Regions from separate parts of the Homo sapiens genome. Here regions 2 and 3 are each linked to region 1. Evidence: promoter capture Hi-C in 16 types of primary human blood cells and fetal thymus (Javierre and others, 2016). All regions are on one chromosome and are shown on one strand. The core of a region is centred on a gene start or on the middle of the fragment in contact, and the rest is flanking DNA. Distances in the headings are between cores, read along the strand shown.

Region 1 (4,564 bases), core at 599-3,098:
ACACACGGGCATACACACAGCCAGCCAGTTGGTTGCCCAACTGCTCCAGCTCGGGGGAAGAAGAGAAGGAGACTAGCAAACAGTAATTAGCCTCCTCCCAGATGCCAGTGTCTGTCTCTAAGTCCCCAGGGACTTCCAAGGAGATGCCGGAAATACTCAGGTTTTTCACCTCCCCCATGCAAGAATGCAAGGTGTGGAGCAGAATTTGATCCTAAATGTCAATACACAGCTCCTCCCATAGGCACTTCCCACACGGTGCTAGCTCAGGGCCTCATTCTCAGTGCCCTCTGCCCCCAGCTGCCTAAGCTTGTCAGCCCTAGCTGGTCTGGAACAGACTCTTATTCCCTTTCTCTCAGTCTACAATGACTTAGCTTTCCTCCCCATTCCTATATAGATACAGCTTAGAAAACACCTCCTGGAAAATGCAGCCAGTGGCCTTTAGGTGATGCCCTCAAGCTGAGCAGAACCCAAAGAAGGCTTTAGGTGGCTCAGATCACACCTGTGAGTTTATATTCATTCATTCAAGATAACCAAAGCCCTATTCTGGGCACCAAGGAAATAAGGAGAGAGAGGGTCAGTATCTGAAGAGGAGAGAGACTTCCTCATCCTCAAAACTTTCATATGAAGTCAGCCTATCTCATGAGCCCTGGAGGCAGGAAGAGGCCACCAAGGTGGATTCAAAAGCCCTTTCCGACAGTTATGTTTTGAGAATCTTAATTTTCTGGGATCTGAAGTTCTTTGATGAAAGACAGAAGCCCACAGGCCTGGGCACCCACCCACCCCAGGCACCATGATAGTGTCCCAAATGTCACCACAGCATCCAGTTCTATCAACAATGTGGAACAGCAGACATAGCTGCAGTGTCCATTTTACAGGTGAGGAAACGTGGCCCAAACAGAAAAAGGAACTTGTCTGAAGTTAGCCAGGTATCAAGGCTGCCTGGATCTAAAATCCCAGCCCAGCTCTCCACAGTGTAAGTTTTAGGAGATGGGAGATAATGATCTGACCTGGCTGCCTGAATGCAGTAGCAGAAAGGAGCCCTGGGGCTGAGCTGGTGGGACCAGCTTCCATCAGATGGACATGGCATGGTGAGGCCTGTCTTTCCAAGGGCTGGTGCTGCTGCTTGCTCCACGCGGACCACGAAGACCACGAGGGCAGCAAAGAGGGCAATTTTAATGGCATCTGGTACCGGGGCTTTGGGGGAGGAAGTCTGTGGTTCCGGTGTTAACAGTGGTGCCAGAGACCTCTGTAATCTGCCGCCTCCGCCAGGTGGAGTCTGGGCTCTGCCCCTGCTGAGCCTCTCCCCACCGGACACTCAACCTCAGCCTTGGCTGCCACAGCTAGTCTGGTCTGAGGGGGAGGGCCCCGCCCGACTCAACTGAGGGGAGGCCATTCCAAGTAGAATCGTTAGTTGGACACAGTTCCCGGGGGGATGGAAATGTCAAAGGCAACTCGATCCGGCCCATCTCCCTCTCCTGCCAGGCGACGGTATCCGCGGGGATCGAGTGACTGCCTACATAGCCTGGAATACTCCACAGCCGCCCTCCCTACCCCGCCCTGAAGGCTATACTGTCCGAAGGGGCCGACCGAGGTCAAGGGACCTGTCGCCCCGCGGGAATCGCGGCCGTGGGATGGGCCCAGGTGTTCAGGCTCGCTCCACCCATTCATCGGTGGGAGCGAAAGTTCAGGAATCGTGCTCCTTCAGCAGCCCCCCGCCCCCCACAGCCCTCCCGCTGGGCTCACCCATTGCAGTTACAGCCCGGCAGAAGCGGGGGTGAAAGAGCTTCCCGCCGATCCCCTGCGCTTGAACCAGAGTGAAGCTGCCGCCGCGCCGCGCGGGGCTCTGTCTGGCAGGGCACAGCCCCTCCTCGGGTCCCGCCCTGGGGTTCCTCGGCCACGCCCCAGTCATCCAGTCTCGTCTCGGGCCTCAGAGTCCAGCCCTGCCCTTGACGTTCGACCCCTCCTCCCAGGTTATCAGGCGGATCTGTGGCCCCGCCCCTCAGCCCCACCTTCCTCCCACCGCTCTGTGCTCTGCCCCTGGCATTTCAGGCTTGCTCAGTCCTGCGCCCCGCGGCTCCGACTCCCGCCGGCGGGCCCGCCCCTCCTGGGCCACTGCTAACCCGCAAGCGGGCGGGGCTCGGCCCCAGGCCTGCTGGGACATGTAGTTCTGCAGAAAGGAGCAGCTGCGGAAGGTTGGGGTTCTTGCACCTCTAGGCTAGGTTTGGAATGAGGATGAGAGGGAGAGAGCTGCAGGGTAAAGGAGCAGAGCTGGCCATTGGAATTCCTTCCTTCCCGGTTTGGACAGGTGGAGGCCATATCGGTATAACGCTCTCACAAGCCCTCAGCTTTCCATACGGAAAAGTGGTGGCGGAATTCCGCGAGTATCTCAGCTCCCAATGCAGGTGCTTCCAATCGAGGGCCCCACGGAGGGAGCTGTAGTTCCAACCCGCCGCGAGTCCAAGCTGTCGGTTCCCACCGGACCAAACCAGCGGTGTCCGAGGTCAGGGACTGAGAAGACCGGTTTCTGCTCGGTGTTTTGCAACGTCACCCGCCTCCCAGACCGCTACCCCCAGACTAGTTATTTATAGGGTCCAGCCCCTCCTCCTAAGTTACAGCCTTTAGTTAGAAATGCCCAAGCTGCGGGAAAGTGGGTGTGCCCCGCCATGCCCCTCTCCCCGGGGGCTGGGCAAGACTCTGAGGTTTCATTTCTTTTTTATTTTATTTTATTTTTATATTTATTTATTTTTGAGTTTCGTTCTTGTTGCCCAGGCTGGAGTACAATGGCACGATCTCAGCTCACTGCAAACTCCGCCTCCCGGGTTCAAGCAATTCTCCTGCCTCAGCCTCCCAAGTAGCTGGGATTACAGGCACGCACCACCGCGCCTGGCTAATTTTGTATTTTTAGTAGAGACAGAGTTTCACCATGTTGGTCAGGCTGGTCTCAAACTCCTGACCTCAGGTGATCTACCTGCCTCGGCCTCCCAAAGTGCTGGGATTACAAGTGTGGGCCACCGCGTCCGGTCTTTATTTTTTTGAGAGAGGGTCTCGCTCTGTCGCCCAGGCTGGAGTGCAGTGGCGTTAACATAGCTCACTGCAGCCTCAATGTCCTTGGTTCAAGCTATCCCCTCCCGCCTCAGGCTCCTGAGTAACTTGGACCACATGTGTGTGCCACCATACCCTGCTAATTTTTAAATTTTTTTGTAGAGAAGGGGTCTCTTTATGTTGCCCCAGCTGGTATCGAATTCCTGGGCTCAAGTGATCCTCCTGCCTCTGCCTCCCAAAGTGGTGAGATTACAGGTGTGAGCCTCTGCACCCAGCTGGTTTCATATCTATTTGATGCAGAAATAAAAATACTGAAGATCACAGAGATTTTAGAATGGCCCCTTCTCGCTCCCTGAGGGGCAGAGAAACAGGGCTTTGTTTTGCAACTTGAAATTTCTTTGTCATGAGACCCTCCAAAATTATGTTTTGACCAGTTGGACTTGGAATGGGGGACACACCTTGTGCAGCAAGGGTGTCTGAGCACAGAGAGGCTTTTGGGAGGCTGTGATGGGGACTCCTGGAAGCAGAGATCAAGAGCTTTGGGTGTAGGGATAGGTCTTTGACTGTGGAAGGAAGGATTCTGGGTCCTCTGATGAGTGGGAGGGCATCTAAGTTTGGGAGCATACTGAAGAAATGTTAGCTGGAGGGTCTTCGTGGGGTGGAAAGTAGATGGCTCCTGCCTGCATTGCAGGGTGGACCCATCCGTTTGGGCTCTGGGATTCAGGGGAGGAGGATAGCAGCTGGATATAAGGCTACTGTTCTGTGTCAGGAGGGCACTCAGGGATGTACTGAGATGATGGGGTTGGAAGGGCCCAGGGAAGGGTGACTTTGAGAAAAATTGCATCTCAGTTGAAGGGGTTTGATAGAGGCCTGAGTGACTGGCCCTTCACTTCCAGATCCTGCTGGGTAAGGACACAGGAGGCAGGCTTTGGGGTTGAAGAGTTTATTTATTGCTCTGCCCCCTTGGCACAGCAAGCCCAGGCTCTACCAGCAACGATAGTCGGGATAGGTCTCAGACACAAACTCAGGATGGATAACATAGTTGTTTCTCTGGGGACCACCAGACTTCTTGAAGTGACTTGTGTCCCATCTACAGGAAGAGATGGGTCAGCCGTTTTGGATCCTCATATGTCAAAGTGAATATCTGACTCCAGTTTGCAATGCTAACCTTATCCCTACACTTTGTCTATAGCACTGACCTTGGGTTCCAATACTGACCTCCTGACCTTAGGTTCTACTGTTAAGTTGCTGATACCCAATATTTCCTCCTTAACATCGACTTCTTACTCATTACTTCAAGCTCTGAACCAACGCCTTTGGCTGTAAGCCCACTGCCAACCTGTAACCCTTCAATACCGGCCTCCTAGCCCTCTCTTAAGGTCCTCTGTCCTTACCACCTTTGACTGCTCCATGCCACTAGCTCCCCCTCGTGGTATGTGCCTGTCAGTGCACCGCGGAGCGTTCTCATCCCGTCTACCAGACATCCTCCCCCAGCCCCGCCTCACCAAGCCTTCAGGGTGCG
Region 2 (4,564 bases), core at 1,025-3,524, 200 kb after region 1:
CCGTCCTCCAGTTACTTTCTGCATTTGGGATGAGGACCCCAGATCCGCCTTTAGGAGGGACAGGAGCAGGGCCAGACTCCTAGGGTCTCCAGGGAGGGACCAGGCTGCCCAGAGGGTGACGGACAGGTTGGTCACTGGACCCTGGGCTTGTCAGGTGTGCACACCCGTACACATATACATGAGCACACGCACACGCACACGTGCAAATGCACATCCGCATGGGGTCGGGGGCACCAGACAGCTGGGGATACTCACACCAAGGGCCATACCCTCCTCCCTTCGCCCCTGTGGGGGAGGGGTGATAAATATTTAAGGGGCTTTTAGCTCAAAAGGGGCTGGAACGGGGGAGGGAGGGGGATCCACGCTGCCTGATTAATGGGGTTACGGGCTTGGATCAATCCGTCCGCCCGCCGCTCCCTCCTCCCCCTCCTCCCTCCCTCCGCCTAATGCGCTTTATCAGGAGACGCTTTTCTGACTTGGCAGCGTTGGGCGTTTTAAATAGACCCATTTAGAGCTGGGGTTGGGGGAGAAGGAGGGGGGTGGAGAGACAGAGATTGAGACAGGCTGGGAGACAGAGACAAATCAGGAAAGAGAGATGGGCCCTAGAAGAGAGAGACTGGGAGAGGAGAGACAGAAGGAAATGCAGAGATACCATTGAGATAAGACACTGAGGGCGAGGCTCCCACGGAGGCTGAGATGGACAGAGAGAGGGTGATGGAGAGAGAGAGGGTGATGGGAGGCCAAAGGAAGCTGGGGGGCTGAGGAGCAGAAACAAACAAACAAAAAGAGACAGGGAGGAAAGGAACCATGGGCAGCAGGGAGAAGCCCAGAGAGAGGCTCTCTGCAAGGGCTGAGTGCTAGCCTGGGAGACAGCAGATATTCTTTATTTCCAAAAACCGTTTTTCATCCACTTTGTTAAATTAAAAAGCTGTTTTTAAAGTGGTGCTGGAGGTGCTGCTGGGGGAGGGTGAACAGAACTGCCAAGTCCTCCCTCTCTGGCCTCCTCCTCCTTGGCCCCCACAGAAGCTGCCTCAGCCTGAGCCCCTGGGGTGTTCTCCAGCTCCCCTGCTCGCTGAGGCAATCCTCTGAGATCCCCAGGAAGAGGGTCAGGGCATCTGAGCTACTGTTCACTGGCAGGAAGTCCTTCCTGCTGTCTGGCCTCAGTTCTTCTTGCTGCAGGGAGCCCATTCTTTCCCCGACCACTATCCTTCTCTTCTCCAGCTCCTGTCCCGGCTCCCTAAGGTGTTCCCAGTTTGCGGAGGATTACGTGCCCTCTCAGCCCAGTAGCACACTTTCCAAATAAGCCATCAGACTCCTCCCAAGGTACCCCCCATAAATATTATCTTTTATTCTGTAAATCCATCTCCTAGCCCCATCCTAGTCTGAACTTCTATCAGATACACACCCCATGTCCTTGGGTCCTCTGGGAACAGTGGGGTGAAAAGCTTAACTCTCTACAGCCTTCTCAGGCCTCCCTTCCTCCTCTCCTGGGCCCCAGCTCCATCTTAAGCCCCTTTTATGTGTCAGCCTGGGGTACCCCACTCCACCCTCAACAACAACCTGGTCCTAGTTGTGAAGGGTTAGTCCCCCCTCAGCCCCCAGCCGGGAAAATGGCCAGTCTGTTTGGGAGCTGAGATGAAAAGCCCGGCCGGCCTTTGTGGGCCTCTGGCGGGTTTTGGACAATAGGCCCTTCCGTTCCGCTCCAGTGCCTCGATGCCTTGGATGCCCCCACCCCCAAGCTGCCAATCCAGGGGCCTTGCCTGGCCTGAATGAGAGACAGGGAGAGTCAGGCTCGGCCCCACAGCTGGCCTCAGAAGATTCTGGACTTTCTGACCTGCCATCCCATCTTTTTAAAGCCTAGCTGCTCCTCCAATCAAATAAGAGAGATGTCTGGGGGGCAGAGAGGAAATCTGAGGATACTGAAACAGAAACATACTCCCATATCTGGGACTCAGCACCCCCTTAGTATAGAACCCAGTTTCCTAACCTGGTGTTGCCCTTGCCTGTGTGACCACAGGTAAGTCTCTTCCCTTTCTATTTGAGAGCATGAAAAGCCTCAGCCAGGCTGAGCCCAAAACCTCTGGAAAAAGAAAGGACAGGGGAAGAGAGGAAGGAATCTCAGGTCCTCCTCCACTCATGTCCCCTAGACGTACAGCCCCACTACACCTGCCTGATTCCCTGAGATTGATCTGCCCCACGTGGGCCCCAGCACCTACCTCTTCACCACTGGCCACACACCAAGCACATCAATGTCCTCCTCCTCCTCCAGACCAACTCTTCAGGACTTCCAAAACCAAGGGGGCAAGATGAGGTGACAAGGCTAGAGTCTAGAAGGGCAAAGGGCACAAATCAGAGGTCACAGAGGAGCCACAGGCCTTAGTCCAACTCAGAGGCCATTCCATACTCACAGCCCCACTGTGAGAAGGGGAGACTGAGGCAGGCAGCAGCTAAACGTCTGGAAGAAGAAAAGTTGAGAGTAATACAGACCCCTCCCAGCACCCCTTGCTGACTTCAGGTTCTGAACCACAGGGACAAAGGTTGCCAGAAGGCAGTGGCCTGATACAATACACAGATACACACCCACAGACAATCCACAATTCTTATACAATCAGTTTGCAGACACACAGGCACCTCCATATCACATGCATCCTCACATGCACAATCCTAGAGGCACAGGGTCACAGGCACGGTGTAAATAACCACCATCGTAACACCCCCTTCCTTATCACCACTATGATTTATTGAGCATCTATTATATGCCAGGAACTGTGTTTGGCACTTTATATGCATTATCTTACTTAATCTTCATGATTTCTCCATGAGGTAGGTTTTATTGTTCTTCACATTTGATAACCAAGGAGATTGAGCTTCAAGGAGGCCTTGCCCAATACCACAGAGCTGATCAGTTCCAGAGTCTAGATTTGAGTCCGTATCTAGTTCCAAAACCTTGCTGCTATACCAATTTGCCTGTGCAGGTCTCTCACCCACCTGCACAATGTCTTTCCCAAGAATAATAACAGCAGGTATCACTTGTTCAGGGTCCTTGGTTACCCAGACACTGTGATAAGTACTTAATTTACATTTTGGTACTGAATCATCAAAACAAGCTTCAAGGCCAGGCATGGTGGCTCACACCTGTAATCCCAGCACTTTGGGAGGCTGAAGCAGGTGGATCACCTGAGCTTAGGAGTTCCAGACTAGCCTGGGCAACATAGTGAAACCCCATCTCTACCAAAAATACAAAAAATTAGCCAGGCGTGGTGGCATGTGCCTGTGGTTCCAGCTACTCCTGAGGCTGAGGTGGGAGGGTCACTTGAGCGTGGGAGGCGAAGGTTGCACTGAGCCAAGATTGAGCCACTGCACTCTCCAGCCTGGGTGACCAAGTGAAACCCTATGGCAAAAAAAAAAAAAAAAAAAAACACAAGCTTTGGAGGTAATCCTGTTTCTGTTTTACAGATCCTGAAACTGAGGCTCAGAGAGCAGAAGCAGCTTGGCCAAAGTCATACAACTGGTAGTTGGTAAAGGAGCTGGCCTTGAACTCAGGGATATCTTGAAAGCCACTGTTGCTTCTATGGACTCTAGCCATTCAAAAGACCCCTCACCTTCTATAAGACCCCAGGAGATCCTCAGGGTCCAACTGCTCCCTTGAAAACAGGTCCCAGATATATCTGCCAAAGGTATGATTAGGTGCCTAAACACATACCATGAGAAAGGGATTCCATGTCTTCCAATCCTGCCCAGAGATGCAGAGACACCACCACCCAGGGAGAGATAGCCAGAAACTAAAATAAGATGTTAGAGACAGGTGGTTGATAGTGACAGATACAGCCACACCAAGACAGGCTCAAAGGGAGGAAGACTGAGGGGAAGCCAGAGACAGAGAGGGACACATTAGGCCAAAGAATGAGAGAGATAGCTGGAAAAGGAGACAATAGGAGTAGAGGAGGGTACAGGCTGACATGAAAAAACACCGACAGATACACTCCAGTATGCAGACAGACACATATAGACCCATCTGACCTTCACAAGAAACAGACTGTGAAAGCAAGCAAGGCTCAGGCTGTGTGTGGTGTGCGTATGTGTGTGTGCGTATTGTGGGGGGAGCATGCAGAGTCTGTATAGCTACGCACATTACACCAGCTGCTTCCAGCAATTTCATCTGATTAATAATAAATGCCCCATAATTACAGCCGCTCCCCCAGCCCTTCTTCCTGTTTTTTGTCAGCTGCTGCCAGACCAGCCCCCCATAAACCCTATGGTCCCCTCCATCCTCACCTGCTGTCCTCTAGGAGGCTGAGAGAATGTGAGCTGGTGGAGGAGGCCATACTCCCAATTTGAGGAGGGATACCCATCTCCCTATCTTGGATTAATGCCCTTTGCTTCCAAGCAAAAAGTCGTCTTACTTAGGTCTCACTCAGAACTTTTCCACTGCATGGGTATAACCTGTGACCCCTAATATGGCCTAGGGGCCCACATCTGGGATGCAGAGAGATGAAATCCCCTTGCCCACTCTTTATCGCTAGCTGGCTAAGTCTCCATCCACAAACTTTACCTAGCCTCAGAA
Region 3 (4,564 bases), core at 430-2,929, 140 kb after region 1:
TCCAGCCAAAAGAGGAATCATTCATCCCATGAGGCTTCAGGGAGGAAACAGAGCTGTTCACCTTGGAGGAGAAAGCACTCTGGGGGATGAGATGCCATGGAGCAGTTATTTCCTCTGCTGTATGGTGGAGAGCTAGAGGGTGGCAGGGCCCGGCTCCATCTAAGGAAAAATGTATGAGCCAGAGTTGATCAGTGACTGAATAGTGTCTATAATGTAGTGAAGTCTCCATCCCCGGGAGTGTGCAAGCTGATTCTGAGGGAACTTCAGTGGGGTGGAATGGGAGGGGGCTATTCAACACTGAGAATTGGTGAGAGCTCAGAAACAAACATCTTGTGAGCATATTCTTGAATGCAAACCCATTTTCCCTATGGACTTTGATATAAACTGAGAAGCACTGGCTGCCCCAAGGAAAGAATGCAGCGATGAAGGCACCATTCTAAAGTCCGTCAGTCATCTCTTCCTGGAACAGATAACTACTAAGGGCCAACGATGGTGCCCAGCTCTAGGCTGGACCCTGGTGGCTTAGATACCTGCTCTTGTGGAGCTTATGTTCTAGTGAAGGGAAAGATACAAAAAGCAACAACAAAATTCCCAGTGTTCTAGGCAGAGAATTATTAATAAAAGACTGTGATATGTAAACATAAATGTTCATGGCAGCATTACTCATAACAGTCAGAGTGGCAACAACCCAGTGTCCATCAACTGCTGAATAGATAAACAAAATATAGTCTCTCCTTGGGGATTATGTCAGCAAGGACAAGGAATGATGTGCTGATACATGCTACAACATGGAGGAACCTTGACAACATGCTTAGCGTAAAAAGCCAGTCACAAAAGACCACATACTGTATAATTCCACTTCTATAATACATCCAAAACAGGCAAATTTGTAGAGATGGAAAGTCAATTTGTGTGGCCTAGGGTGGTGAAAATGTTCTAAAATCGGTTGTAGAGAAGGTTGCATAACTGTGAATATACTAACACCAAGAATTTGATGCTTTAAATGAGTGAATTTTATAGTATATGAATTATATCTCAATAAAGTTGTTACATTAAAAGAAGAAAGATAGGTTCACAAAGGCCAGGCAATGAAAAAGAAAAAAAGAAAAAGAAAAAATAAAAGGACTGGGTGGTCTGTTGGATACAGTGGTCAGGAAAGGCTTCTTTGAAGAGGTGACACGCACGCTGAGAGTTGACTGGCAAGAAGGAGGCAGCCATGTGGAGATAGGGCAGGGGAGCAGCCCATGGTGAGGGAGCAGCTGGGGCAGATGCCCTGAGGTGGGAACCAGCTTGGGGTTTAAGGAACAGGAAGGCAAGTGTGGTTGGGGTAGAGTAAGCAAGGGGCGAGAACATGAGGTGAGAGTGGGGAGGTGGGCTAGAGTGTGGGATCTGGATTTTATTTATAGTGCCAAGGGAGACTGTGGGAGGATTTTAAGTGCTTTAAAGGTAAGCCTACTGCCATATGGAGGATGGATTGTAACAAGGCAAGAGTGGAAGCGGGGAGACCAGTTAAGAGGCTGCCACAGTTGTCCAGGTGAGAGTTGGTAGTGGTTTGGTCTGAGGGTGTGGTGAAGGTAGCATCCAACATGGAATGAGCACTGGTATGTCAAGCACTGTCCTTGCACTTTACATATATTAACTGGTGTAAGCCCTGGCTCTGCCACTTACTAGCAGGTTAGCCTCTAAGAGCCTCTAACTCCTCCGTTATAAAATAAAGATAATGACAGAACCACCTTACAGAGTGGTTGTGAAGAGCATAATGAGGTGATGCAACCGTATGATGTGCTTGCCCAGAGTCTAGTACATAGTGAGTGCTCAACAAATGGTAGCTGCTATTTTCTTTTCTTTTCTTTTTTTTTTTTTTTGAGACAAGATCTCACTCTTGCCCAGGCTGGAGTACAGTGGCTCCATCTTGGCTCACTGTAACCTCCGCCTCCCAGGTTCAAGTGATTCTCCCATCTCAGCCTCCCTAGTAGCTGGGACTACAGGCATGCACCACCACGCCCATCTAATTTTTTGTATTTTTGGTAGAGACAGGGTTTCACCATGTTGGCCAGCCTGGTCTCAAACTCCTGACCTCAAGTGATTCACCCACCTTGGCCTCCCAAAGTGCTGGGATTACAGGCGTCAGTGAGCCACCACGCCCAGCCTATAGCTGCTATTATTAATTCTCCATAGATTTAAAATTTCTCCTAAACTTTTTAATTCTCACTCTTTCAACCATAGGAAAAACACAGAGACACAAAATTCCCCCTCCCTCCACCTCCAGCTCCAGTGTGCTAGCCATTAGCCTTCTACAGTCTTTCCCCAGGAAGTCCAGGGACTCATTCCTCTGAGGTGGAAGACAGGCCTCATTACCCCTGAGTGTGCTGACACCGACCTCTCCACAGGCCCACATATTTGACTTAGCCATCAACAAGTATGAGGCCATCTGCAACCAGCCTGTGGCGGCCAAAAAGAACAGGCTCACCCACGTGCAGTTCAATCTCATCCACCCCATCATCATTGTGGGCGATGACCGTGGGCACATCATCAGCCTCAAGCTCTCACCCAATTTGCGCAAGATGCCAAAGGTACAGGCTCTGGGACTTTGAGCTGCTGCAAGACGTAAAGTCTCCAGGAGGGTGGGGATGACAGAAGGGAGAAGCCAGGGTGACCACCCAGTTTCTGATGTGGGAGACCCAGGGTAAGGATGGTGTCATTGCCTGAATGAGGCTCACAGTAGAAGCAGGTTTGTGAGAAAACAGCAGTTTGACATGCTGCATTTGAGTTACCTGTGGGGCCCCAGGTGACTTTCCCAGGTGGAGACATCCAATGAGCAGGTGGATCTGAAGCCTGCAGAGGCAAATGTGGAGGTATCATTGATTTCTTCCCAGTGGAAATGCTGTGGGTAGGACAGGTCACCCAGGCAGGGGGCCTGGGGCTGAGCCACTGCCTCATTGACTGGGCTTTCACAGGGCTTCAGCCCCAGTGGTCCCTGAGCTGGGAGCTGTGGGTCTACACAGAGAGGAAGGAAATGAGCCGCAAGGAGAGTAACTAGGTCAGCAGCTATGCAGCCCTCCTTCTGAGCTCTGGTTCCTGTTTCTAGGGTCTCCAATGATCAGGAGACCCTGCCCAGAGGCCAAGGGCCCCAAATACAGGTCTGGAGCCCAGAGCGATGACCTTAAAGTCTAGATCTGAGTCCAGATCCAGACTTATGAACCCAGGCTTTGCAGCCCGGGCCTTGGAATCCTGAGCCCAAGAACCCAGAGCCCAGTCCTGCCCATTTGTGTGCTAAGAGTAGAGATGGCTCTTTGCTTTCTGCCAGGTTCTGGGCCAGGATCAGGACTGGGCCAGCTTGCCCTAATGACCATCCCTCCTGGCAATTTGAGGCATTTACTGCAGTTTGAGGCAGTGGCAGGGGCCTGTGTCTTTCGACTACTGTCTTCCCTGCACTGTGCTCCTACCAAGGAAGGGACTGCGGCACCATCCCTCTGGTGCTGGCTTGGCCTGTTCCCCACCATGGCCAGGGAGGCAAGGGCTGGGAGTGTGGCTGGCCCTGTAATTGTAGCCAGCTGGGGGAGAGGGTGGACTTGGCTATAAATACTCAAAAGGCTGCTAAGCGCCTGCAGCTGTGGCCCAGAGGCTGTGGTGGGCTTGAGGGGAGGGAGGGAGTCGGGCGTGGTCTGAATCTCTTTGCTGAGCCCAGCTAGTTGGCCTCAAGGAGGAGGAAGGAGGAAGCATAATTTGTGGAATAGATAAAATGTGTTCTTAATTTTCTGAGGAGAGAGACCCAGGTTGAAGCTGGCAGAGTTGGACAACCCTCCAGGAGGGATGATGGTCATTCTTTGGGGGAGGAGTACAGCCATGACACCATGAGGGTGGTAGACATGGGTGGGAGCCTGCCCTGCCCACTCTGATCCAGGGAGGTAAGCATCTCCCATAGTTTCAGTTCCCCTCAGAGAAGGGTCAGACATGGGTGGGAGCCTGCCCTGCCCACTCTGATCCAGGGAGGTAAGCATCTCCCATAGTTTCAGTTCCCCTCAGAGAAGGGTCAGACATGGGTGGGAGCCTGCCCTGCCCACTCTGATCCAGGGAGGTAAGCATCTCCCATAGTTTCAGTTCCCCTCAGAGAAGGGTCAGTCATGGCTGGGAGAGCTGGGCTGTGTGTATCTGGGGACCTACGTCTCTGAGGACCTGAGAAGGGACAGGTGGGGGCTGGTGGGTACTTGAGTGGATTAGAGGTTCCCGTGAAATTGCCATCTGACCCTATCAGCCAAGTGATTCATGCAAAACAAAATCCTCTGGGCATCCCTACTGCCCTTCCTCTGTGAGCTGCAGACTCCCTGCCCTTTCCAAATGGCTTCCCCACAGAGGTCTGGACCTCCCTGCCCAGGGAGCTCCCATGATGGGTGTCAAGAGCCCAAAGAGTCCAAGGCCAAAGACTGTCTTTCCCTAACTACAGGATAGATGGGAAACTGAAGCTCAGAAAGGCAAAGGCCTTGCCCAAAGTCATATAGGGAGTTAATGACAGAGCTGGAACTAAAACCAGGTCCCCTAACTCCCAGGGGATGGGGTGAAGCCA

The links. The method cuts DNA at HindIII sites, captures the fragments that hold promoters and counts their contacts. A CHiCAGO score of 5 or more calls a contact.
Region 2: a contact is called between a fragment that was not itself captured here and the fragment with the promoter of MYORG in region 1, in 1 of 17 cell types (endothelial precursors). The highest score is 6.9, in endothelial precursors.
Region 3: a fragment that was not itself captured here is called in contact with the fragment with the promoter of MYORG in region 1 in 1 of 17 cell types (endothelial precursors); the score reaches 5.2 in endothelial precursors.

Annotation. Positions count from the first base shown.
Region 1 is chr9:34,375,050-34,379,613 of GRCh38, forward strand. MYORG (myogenesis regulating glycosidase) reads right to left here and starts at 1,849. Exons shown (of 2, transcript NM_020702.5): 1 at 1,744-1,849. SPMIP6 (sperm microtubule inner protein 6) reads right to left here. Exons shown (of 7, transcript NM_032596.4): 7 at 3,970-4,132. RefSeq lists enhancers at 616-1,197, 1,198-1,778 and a silencer at 1,824-2,213. The HindIII fragment of the contact is 6,785 bases long and covers 305-4,564 here.
Region 2 is chr9:34,578,879-34,583,442 of GRCh38, forward strand. It overlaps CNTFR (ciliary neurotrophic factor receptor), which reads right to left. Exons shown (of 10, transcript NM_147164.3): 2 at 2,217-2,327. It overlaps CNTFR-AS1 (CNTFR antisense RNA 1), which reads left to right. Exons shown (of 2, transcript NR_024369.1): 2 at 3,457-4,194. Among named protein-coding and RNA genes, the nearest start is that of CNTFR, 8.6 kb to the right of the region's middle. RefSeq lists an enhancer at 1-657. The HindIII fragment of the contact is 1,662 bases long and covers 1,444-3,105 here.
Region 3 is chr9:34,514,895-34,519,458 of GRCh38, forward strand. It overlaps DNAI1 (dynein axonemal intermediate chain 1), which reads left to right. Exons shown (of 20, transcript NM_012144.4): 19 at 2,391-2,573. Among named protein-coding and RNA genes, the nearest start is that of ENHO, 5.8 kb to the right of the region's middle. The HindIII fragment of the contact is 5,796 bases long and covers 1-4,564 here.